Linked DNA regions of Homo sapiens: region 1 is linked to region 2. The links are contacts of gene promoters, found by promoter capture Hi-C in blood cells and fetal thymus (Javierre and others, 2016). All regions are on one chromosome and are shown on one strand. The core of a region is centred on a gene start or on the middle of the fragment in contact, and the rest is flanking DNA. Distances in the headings are between cores, read along the strand shown.

The links. The method cuts DNA at HindIII sites, captures the fragments that hold promoters and counts their contacts. A CHiCAGO score of 5 or more calls a contact.
Region 1: the fragment with the promoter of TCIM here is called in contact with the fragment with the promoter of ZMAT4 in region 2 in 4 of 17 cell types (M0 macrophages, erythroblasts, M2 macrophages and 1 more); the score reaches 13.9 in M0 macrophages.

What each region holds. Positions count from the first base shown.
Region 1 is chr8:40,150,260-40,155,513 of GRCh38, reverse strand. TCIM (transcriptional and immune response regulator) reads right to left here and starts at 2,032. Exons shown (of 1, transcript NM_020130.5): 1 at 204-2,032. The coding sequence starts at 1,981. The coding sequence ends at 1,661. All of the region lies in intron 3 of LINC02866 (long intergenic non-protein coding RNA 2866), which reads right to left. The HindIII fragment of the contact is 684 bases long and covers 1,711-2,394 here.
Region 2 is chr8:40,894,843-40,899,992 of GRCh38, reverse strand. It overlaps ZMAT4 (zinc finger matrin-type 4), which reads left to right and starts at 2,167. Exons shown (of 7, transcript NM_024645.3): 1 at 2,167-2,310. The HindIII fragment of the contact is 2,974 bases long and covers 97-3,070 here.

The sequences.
Region 1 (5,254 bases), core at 783-3,282, 740 kb after region 2:
GAAAATAGAATTTGCCATTTGATTTTCTTTTTAAAAACATAGTATTTATAATCCTGACTTGTAACCCTCCCAGCAGATGTGAGGTAATTCACTTGTTTTGACTTACTGTGATCAGCATTTTGAAAAACACTTTAGGTGTTTCTAAAATGCTTAACTTGTGGAAAAATTTCATTTTTGTTAGGAAAGCATAGCAGGCATTTACGTATGCTGTCCTAGAAACATTTTATTATAGTTTTAACGGGAAATAAGCAAAGAGATAATATTATTTCTATATTTGTTCCTATTAAACAAACAGTAGTAACACACAGAATCTTGGTCATCACTCAGACTCTAAACCCAAAACATATTGCTTGGGAAAAATAGATGTACACATGTACATAGCTACTGTAATCATAGAAGAAATTTTTCAAAAGTATGAAGAGAAAGCCTTTTAAAACTCATCCTTAATGGATACATAAATAGAAATGCCAAGGAGTCAATCTATGAACTTCTATATCTATATTTTATATTTTAAGATTGGGACAGAGAAACTTCCCAGATATTTGACGTAAGAATTTGTTTTGAAAAAGTTTGGTAATTAATATAAAACTACTCTAAAATTAACTTTTATTGTTAGAGACACATCTTTAGAAAAGTTTGTAAATATCAACATTTACCATCTTATTTTTTCCTTTGAGACCAAGCATCACAGACCAAAAGCCACAAAGTTTACAATAATTTATTATTGTTGCATGACATTTGCCAGTAAAATAAATTATAGAAACTATAGAGTCTTTATAAACTATTTTGTATATCATATTCACTTCCTAATGCTTACTGCAGTAACTGTATGAAATTTAATTAGATTACGTTTTAGCATTAGTCAGAAGATTTAAAAAATATGTAAAATGTTTTCACAGTACTTTGGATTTATAAAAGACCCCATTATTTTAACTTTTGTGCAACCTGTTTGAAATGTATAAAAAACCTTTTACAAACCAAAAGGTGGCGTAAGGTTTTACTGAGTTGCTGAAGACATCTTACTTTCTTGAATTTCTACTTAACATCCATGTGGTGCACTTTTTCAGGCATTGTAATAAGTGCAAATAAATAATCAATTATTGATTTCTAAAAATCTATACCAATAGACAATACTCAGGCTTGGAAATATTTTGAACACTCAGATATAAAAATTCAGTAAACAATTTATGCATGGTATTTTCTCTCCCTGTCCTCCCTCTCCCTCCTCCCTTCCCCTATCTATTTGGTTAAAAAAAAAAAAAAAAGTTCAACTTCGATTTAAGTCCTAGGGCCTGACAAAGTGACCCTGGATAAATGTCATCTCCAGCCATCTGTTTTCTTTAGTTCTCATTACATCTGTCCAGGCTCTTCTATCAGCATCAATCCTTTCCTGCAGGGACGGAAGAGTTTTCAAATCCTTGCTGAAAGCATTTTGTTCTCCTCTGTAACAGCACAGGGCATGAAATTGTTTGGAGTCTTTGTAACCAGTCTGTTCAGTCCTGGTCCCTTTCCAGTCCCGGTCCCTTTCCAGCCTCTGGAGTCCTGACAGAAGAGAAGCTTGTAAGGTAGCAGCAAAATGCTGCATCTGTTAGAATCTCACAAACTCACTTGGTCTTTGAATGTCCATTCTTGGATAACGTCCTTATCCATCCTCTTCTCTTCAGTGAACTTTGATGGAATATTTCCGCAGTTTCAGAAACTGGAAAAGCTTGTCTTTTGTCCTCTTCTTCAAGGCCATCAGGGCACGCGTTTTCTCCTCCACATCTTGATCTATGGCAAAAATGATCTTGGCTCTCTCCTCTGCTTTCTTGTCTCCAGAGTTTCTGAAGAGCCTTTCTAGTGATTCTTGGTCTGTGTTTTCAAAGATGTTGCCCACGGCTTTCTTACGAGAGGCTGTGTCGAAGTGGTAGCCATGGATGGATGGGCTGACTCGTAGCGACGTGGACATGATGACGGCTTGGTGGCTTCGCTTTGCTTTCATCGATGTGGGGATCTTCCGGAATTCAGCTCCCAGGCTTTCCAGAGAGTCTGTAGTGAAATCATTCTGGGACTGCTATTTAAAGTGTGAACAAAAGCTCCAGGCTCAAATTACACTGGTGACATCAGAGTGATCTCAAGGAAGAATAATCACAGAAAGGCTTAACAGTTGAGTTGCCAATATCCTGTTCTTGTGTAAAACATTACTAAAAGCTGTGTTCAGTGATTAGGCGCAAGGCTGTGAGTACTCATTTTACTTCCTATGTGGCAGTAGGATAATACAGACCTGGGCCTTCCTTTAAGAAAATAGCTGAATACAGGAAAATGCAAAGATAAGACATAAACGAGGTTGCTTAGACTCTCAAATCTTCCCAAACGACAGTTAGAACAAGGGGTTCTGCTAACTACAGGAAAGCTTTCGTTCGCAGAGAAGTAATTAAAGTGCACTGCAAACATTTGGCAGTCCACATCAGTGCCCTTTGGACATCCATATCAGGGGCAACTCCAGAGCTACTGAGAGAAAGCTGAGCAATCAAGGATAATAATTTGGGGTGTGATCAATTCTAGGATGGGATTTTACATACAAAACGCTGACATGACACAGCTTGAAACGGTGACTTTTCAGAGATTGTGTACAAGTGCTAAGTGTCACTGAAGACCATTGTAATTTGGGTGTAGTAATAATATGAATAGTAGAGGCTATCTCCTTAGGCTTGTGTATACATCCACAACAATAGCTATCAAAAAAGCCAGCAGGAAAAGTTAATCAAGTGTTTTACGTGCACAGTGCCCAAAATGAACGAGGTGATCTTTTGTTTTCAAATTTATTTTGGCATTACCCAGACATAGAGCAATAACTTCTTTGGAAGCATATAAATGTGTTCTTCCTGTCTTCCACAATATTCAAGCCAGCCAGTGTCCTCACTGACCTATGGAGTTGTCATATGCTAAATGTGAGCTTCAAAGGGTCCTGGAGATTCTCTTTGTGGATCTTACGCCTGGTCCGCTTTCTAGTCCTTTAAGAAAGCAGGACAGGTCTTTTCGTTTTTCTTTTTATCTAGTCAAGTAAGATCTAGAAAATGCGCAAAGGGAGACACCGTGGGGAAGGTACCTCACTAGGAAATTAAGTTAGAGACTCTCCTTATATTTTAATTCATTCATTCACTTACTCGTTTATCCACTCATTTATTTAATCAATATTTATTAAAGGTGTGTTATTAGCCAGAACTTTTTGAGGCATTGGAAATGAAACAGAAAACCAAACAAAACCAACCTAACCAAACCATGCAAAGAATCCCTTTTTTACCTTAATGAAGTTTATGTTCTACTGGGAAATAGACAATAGAAACATACATTTATAATATATATCATGTCAGAGTAAGGAATATTATGAGTAAAAATGAAGCAGAGTTGTACAGGAGTGGAAGGAGAGGGTTGAGATTTTCCTAGGATATTCAGGCACAGCTTCTTGTAATGAGACATTGTGCAAAGACTTGAAGGTGGTGAAGGAGGCAGTCAGCTATATGGATATCTGTAGGAAGGGTGCTGCCAGAGAAGCAAGTGCAGAAGGTTGAAGAAAAGAGTGTGCAAAGAGTGTATGGAGAACAGCCAGGGACCAGTGTGGTCAGAGCAGAGTGAGCAGGGCAGAGTGGGAGGAGATGAGGTAAGGGCGAGTAGGCAGTGGAAAGAGGGCAGGAGCAGGCTGTGTGCAACCTCACAGGCTTTGATTGTGGATTTAGCTCGTACACTGTTAGGAGACAGGTGGGCTTTGGAGAATTTGGAGCAGAGAAATGGCATGGTTTTCCTTATAATTTTAAAAGCTTACTGACACTTCTTAGAAGAGAATAGATTTCAGGGAAGCAAGCAGGGAGTGGGGAGCAGGAAGACTAGTCAGGAGATGTTCAATAATCCAAGAAAGAGAGGATGAAGGCTTCCACTAGGGAGAATGTGGAGGTAGTGAGAACTGATCCAATTCTGGCATATTGTGAAGGTAAAGCTAAGACGATTGCTGAAAAATTAGATGCGAGGAATGAATAACAAACAGGAGCCCAGGCTGATCTCTTCTGAAGGATGCCTCCTTGAAAGACATTTCCAGGTGTGCCAGTGGTCAACTCTCCAACCATGCAGCTCATGTGTGTTCCAGTTTTTCCAAGGGTTCCAGAAGAGCCCTTTGTTCTGCTGTCTATGTCTATGGATTTACAGGCCTATATAGCACACCTTTGTGGCAGCATCGTTTCCCTTGCTAAATTTAAAAAAAAATTATTATTATGGCAACAAGGATTTACTGAGCTTTTATTATGTGCCAAGCAGAGGACAAGAGATTCACAAAACCTCTCTTAATTATTGTCATAACTCAAGGATTTATCAAAGTTCTTTTTTTTTTTTTTTTTTTTTTTTTTTTTGAGACGGAGTTTTGCTCTTGTTGCCCAGGCTGGAGTGCAATGGCGTGATCTCTGCTCACCACAACCTCCGCCTCCTGGTTCAAGTGACTCTCCTGCCTCAACCTCCCGTGTAGCTGGGATTACAGGCATGAACCACCATGCCAAGCTAATTTTGTATTTTTTTTTTAGTAGAGATGGGGTTTCTCCATGTTGGGCAGGCTGGTCTCGAACTCCTGACCTCAGGTGATCCACTCGCCTCGGCCTCCCAAAGTGCTGGGATTACAGGCGTGAGCCACTGTGCCTGGCCTCAACCTTCTTATACTATGTTCTTTCTTGAAGTGATTCTTATGTGGGCTCATGCTTTTTCTGATACCCTACTTATTGATTACTCCTAAATTTTGATCCCTACCTAGCCCTGGCCTCTGAAGTGTTAAACTCATTTATTCATCTAACTAATCAATACAAATATATAAAAATATGTTATACATATTCATTCTGTTATAAAATAAACCTGGCTATGATCCTTAATAACTCCTTTTCTTTCTCTCCCTACACATAATCTATGGCCAAGTTCTGTCAGTTCTATCTAGAAAATGTTCCCAAAGCCATCTACTTTCTCTCTATTTTCATTGCCATTTATGCCAGCCCTTCATATGGTGGATGCTGTGATGCATGATCCAGAATTCCCTTTAAGATTTTCCCAGGTGCTTAGCTATCAGCCCGCTTCAGGGACTGATACTACTGAAGAAGTTTATGTCACCTAAGGGTACCCTTTTTCCCTTCCAGGTGCAGCTATATCCAGTGACTGATCCACATGGTGGTGTAAAATCCTGCTCTCCTTGTCCGTATCAACTCTAAGGGGTCATCTAAACTTCAGAGCACCTTTCAGGGTAGGC
Region 2 (5,150 bases), core at 918-3,417:
CTGGGACCAGAGCCTCACCAAAGACATGGAGATCCTAGGATAAGAAGGCTGAAGGGTTAGTTTCTGGATCATCTGAAATTTGATATTTTAAAAGCTTTCTTTAAAAGACGCTTTTATAATTCTCTCTTAAAAAATTCAGCCCATTTTGTCCTTTGCCATTTTTGAATTGGGTTATAGGTCTTGTACTTATTGATTTATAAAAGCTCTTTCATTTTAGAAACATTAATAATAAATATTTTACCTAGTTAAGAAAATTTAGCTGCCAAGTGATGTCTTTTCCATATGGTGACAAATACATTAAGGAGAGGGGAAGGTCAAAATTTGTGCTTTATGATTTCTTCTTAATTTTTAAAAATTTTTAATTTTATGGGAACATAGTGGGTGTATATATTTATGGGGTACACGAGATATTTTGATACAGGCATGCAATGTGTAATAATCACATTAGGGTAAATGGGGTATCTGGCACCTCAAGCATTTAGCATTTCCTTTTGTTACAAACAATCCAATTGTACTCTTTCAGTTATTTTAAAATGTACAATATGTTTTGCTGACTGTAATAACCCTGTTGTGCTGTCAAATACCAGATCCTATTCATTCTATCTAACTCTATTTTTGTACCTAGTAACCATTCCACCCCCGCCCCTTCCTAGCCTCTGGTAACCATCATTCTATTCTCTCTGTCCATGAGTTCAATTGTTTTAATTTTTAGCTCTCACAAATGAATGAAAACATGTGAAGTTTGTCTTTCCATGCCTGTTTTATTTCATTTAACAGAATGTCCTCCAGTTCCATCCATGGTGTTGTAAATGACAGGATCTCATTCCTTTTTATGGCTGAATAGTACTCCACTACGCATATGTACCACATTTTCTTCATCTAATTTATCTGTTGATGGACACTTACATTGCTTCCAGATCTTGTCTATTGTGAACAGAGCTGCAATAAACATGGCAGTGCAGGAATCTCTTCAAGATACTGATTTCTTTTTTGGGGGTATATACCTAGCAGTGGGATTGCTGGATCAGATGGTAGCTCTATATTTAGTTTTCTGACAAACCCCAATACTGTTCTCCATAGTGGCTGCATTAATTCACATTCTCACCAGCAATGTAGGAGGGTTCATTCTCTTTTCTTCACATCCTTGCCAGCATTTGTTATTGCCTGTCTTTTGGATAAAAGCCATTTTAACTAGGGTGAGACTTTATGATTTCTTGGTGAACAAGGAAAAGTGTTTAAGCTGTCCCCACCCTTTGATGGGTATGTTCTCTCTTCACGTGCGTAGGTTGTTGATGAAAGTCTAAGCGATTAATTTAAGCCATGTCAGAATAAACCAAAGTGAGGGTCCCAGCAGAATCATTCACTCTAGAATGCTCGGCTTTCTGGACCTCCCAGTGAGAACAGTGAGAAACTCCAGAGTTTTATGGATTTTAAGAATAGCTCTTCTGAGACTCTTTGGACAGGGTGCAAAGGAAAATTGTCTCCTCAGGTTGGGGGATGAGGGGGACTGTGAGATAAAGTACTGATAGATAAACTCCAGGTATGCACCTACTATGCTCCCCAAGCAATCTGCCATGTCCTTCACATGTCCTCCAGGGTGGCCCTGTGAAAAGCATTACTCCATCCCTTCAGCCCTCAACCTTGCTCGGCTTTCTAGAGTCTGTCTCATGCCGGCAGACACCCCATAGTTATTATTCTCTCTGCCCTCAGCAACATTTACCAGTTAGGGGGAAAATAAAGCCAGAAAATTGTTGCTATGGGCTCTGTTTTGTGGAAGTTAAAATGCTAGAGCAAGAATCTGATTGCTTGATAGCTCCATCTCTCTCTCTCTCTCCCTCCTACCCTCCTACCCCCCCACAGTTTCTCCTTCTTTTCCTCTCCCCTCCACCTCCTTCCCCCACCCCGCTCCCCCACATTTTCCTACTCCTCTCCCCTCTCTCCACTGGCCTCCCGGTCCTGCCCCCACATTGGGCTGGAGGAGAGCCTTACAGGTTGTCAATGAAACATGGAATTATTTCCTTTGATGGCTTAGATAATAGTAGGAGCCAAAGCAATGAGTGAGGTCGGCTGAAACCAATGCAGTCCTGCCCGGGACTGGAGAGCCAATCGCAAGAGCAGAGGGCGGGGCGTCGGAGCCAGCAGATAATTGCTAAGTGCATCGCTAGCACAGTTGGTCCGAGCTGCCGAAAGGTCTGGTCGCAGAGACAGGAACGTGTAATCCTCAGCGTGCTCCAGCCCACAGCTTCGCTCTACTGCTCGGCAGGGCAGCTGGCCTCTGGGCACCGGCGGCCCCTCTGCCTCGCGGAAAAGGTACCTCTGCCTGCGTCCCGGGGGTGCAGCGCCTGCGTCTCCATTGCCAGTGGCTTTGCAGTTTAGCCTAGGTGGAGGGATTGCAGAAAGAAAAGTTTCTGGGAGGGAATGTGATAAAGGTGGGAAATCACTGTCTTTTGTTGGGAGGAAAACAAGCGGACAATTTGGGAAACTTCTGCGCTGGCAAGAAATGGGCTTGTTTACTACTCCTAATTAGCTGCGCTCAGGTCTGTCTAAATAGGTCTGGTCTCAGGCTAGGGTGTCTGCAGGGCTGGGGTGGAGATTCGGGTGTGCTGGGTGAAAGAAGTTGGATCCCAGGGTGTGCTGTTTCCTGGTGCACCCATCATGGATAGGCTGGTTCCGAGAGAAACGTGATTGGTTGTTTGTGTTTTCCGCTATAGGGTCTGTCCCCTTCGTATTACCTTGATCTGCCTTCCCCAAACTATTGTGACCTTCAACTGGAGTCCTTCCTCAAACTTCTGCCTCCTTCCTGCCTGTCTCAGTTCATTTTATTTGGTGGAAGGAGACATTCCCCGGGGTGGGTGGGTGAGGATGGTCTATTCTGTTTGACCTGGTGGGCACCTACGTGACAACTTGGTGACACGCCAGCAAAACAGTTCTCAGAGGAGAGGAAATCACATAATTAATTAGCTCCCGAAAACTCTGGAAGACTTTCCAGGCTTGGGGTATCCTGAAAAAAAAAAAAAAAGAAAAAGCCAAAAAACGGGATAGAGAGTTCGGTTTGGTACCATGTGAAGCTTACACCCTTGTCCCCAGAAGGGGTGCCTGGCCCGGAGCATCCCCGCAGCTCTGGGAGGTGGAGGCTGGTGGAGGGGGTGGCTCCGTGTAGGTGCGCAGGTTGTTTTGGTGCACAGGTGCATTTGTGGCAGAGGTGGTGCTGAAGTCACCATCCACACTGCTTCTGCTAACTGCTCTTGAAGTAAAACAGCTCACCCCGGCAGGCAGCTGGTTCAGCCCAGAAGCACCCTTGAGCATTCTAAATCGCGAGACCTCAGGGGCCTCTCTTGCTCTGAGACCCTTGGGAAACTCCTTTCTCCCCCTGCCTCCTCCGCCTTTGGCTTCTGCTAAAGGGAGATATTAGGTAGGTGAGTCACTAGGAAGCAGGGACCCATGGGGAAGCAGGCGATGTGCTTGGTCTCGAACTTTCTTCCTCTTCTGCGAAGGCAGCTTCTGCTTGTGTGCCCACCGCACTTCACCAGTTGCGCTGCCTACCTGCGGGATACTCTGAAGCTGATAGTCTGGGGGTGATCTTCCAAGTCCTAGGGGCATTGAAGAGTTTAGATGATTTTCATCCCTCTGATTTCCGTTAAACCCGCAGCTGGGGAGTTCGATTCCCAGTCCTGACAAGACTGCATGTTCTGGGAGGGATTCTCCAGTGACACCTCTTCCTCAGGGCACCCTTCCACGGAGATGCAGATGACAGTCTTGATTCTCCAGCTCCACAAATCCCTTCCACTTTTTAATTCTTATTTTCTTTAACCACCACAACAGATTCTCCTCCACCTCCTGTAGGCAGCTATTTTGGGTGGGAACTGTGATTATTGAAACTCTATTCACAATGGTTAAAAAAATGCCTGCCCACTTTTTTTTTGGGGGGGGTGTCAAAATACCATCAGCGTTCTCTTCTGTACTTCCTATCTGACAGTAAACAAAACAATTTTGCAGCCCTGCCAATTATAATCTTTTTGTGTTTGGGGGGCCTGGAGCGGAAGCTGAACTTTTCCCAGCCGGTGGGCATGGTTAGTCATGGACGTCGTCCTCTGTGGCCTCTCCAGGGCACGTGACCCCCAGGGAGCCCAGGAGGGGCAGCCCCCAGCACGTGGGGGATCTTGCATGAGAGCACCTTGGTTTTCATGAAGGCAGTAAGGAAACCAGAAAATGCTTTTGAGTTTGAGGATTGCAAAACTGGGGGTTCCCTTTAATTGATGCCAATCTGTTGGATTTCTATCGTGATAGGAAACATTAAAAGTAAGGCATTTGAAACAGCTCCTGAAGGGTGAGTCATGCACAGAGGGAAGAGGCAGTGTGGGGGGAGGGGGCGGAGGGGGCCTTGGAAAGTACAAGTGGGACACGCTGGAGCGCTCGCTTTCCTTCCCTCTGCCTCCTCCTCAATCCTCTTTCTTGTATTTCCCCATTCGGAACAGAGATCATTAAAATAACAACTTTAGACCAAAAAAGGATCCTAGGAGCTGAAAAATAATTGACAAAGTGCAAAACACCCTCATTACAGCTTCACCTTGGATGGGGTGAGGTGTGAAACCCAGGACCCAGCGCCTCTGCTGCGATCCAGTTTGGAGAATCTAATTGCTGGTGTTAGGCTAATTAACTCCTTGTGAAGCTGCGTGCCTGTTTGTGTATGCAAGGACCGATGAATGCCTAGGAAATTAAATGTGTTACTTGTCATTTCATCAAACATGATGGCTTTGGCCAGGACCCTGGATAAGCACTATCCACAGACCCAGCGTTTTCTCCTCTTCCCAATTGGCCAAACTGGATCTCTCTCTCTTTTAACCACTATGGTGGGAAGGGGTTGTGTCTTTCTGCTTTTCCAAGCCCTGCGTGAGTTACCTGGCAAATAAAAGTCCTCTCCTTACCCCTCTGTCCCTCCATCCCTGTCATCCTTCTGTTATCCCTTTTCATCATAAACATATCAGTAAGTAATCTTTTGCCAACCTACTTTGATCTTGTCATTTTGTGCTGATTTTTCTGTTAAAGAAAATTGTCCCCTGAAATAAGACTGAAAACATATTAAAATTTTTATCAGAGAAGAGCCTTTTTGCCTTCTGCTTTAAAATTTAATTTTGTGCTTTTGGGGAAAT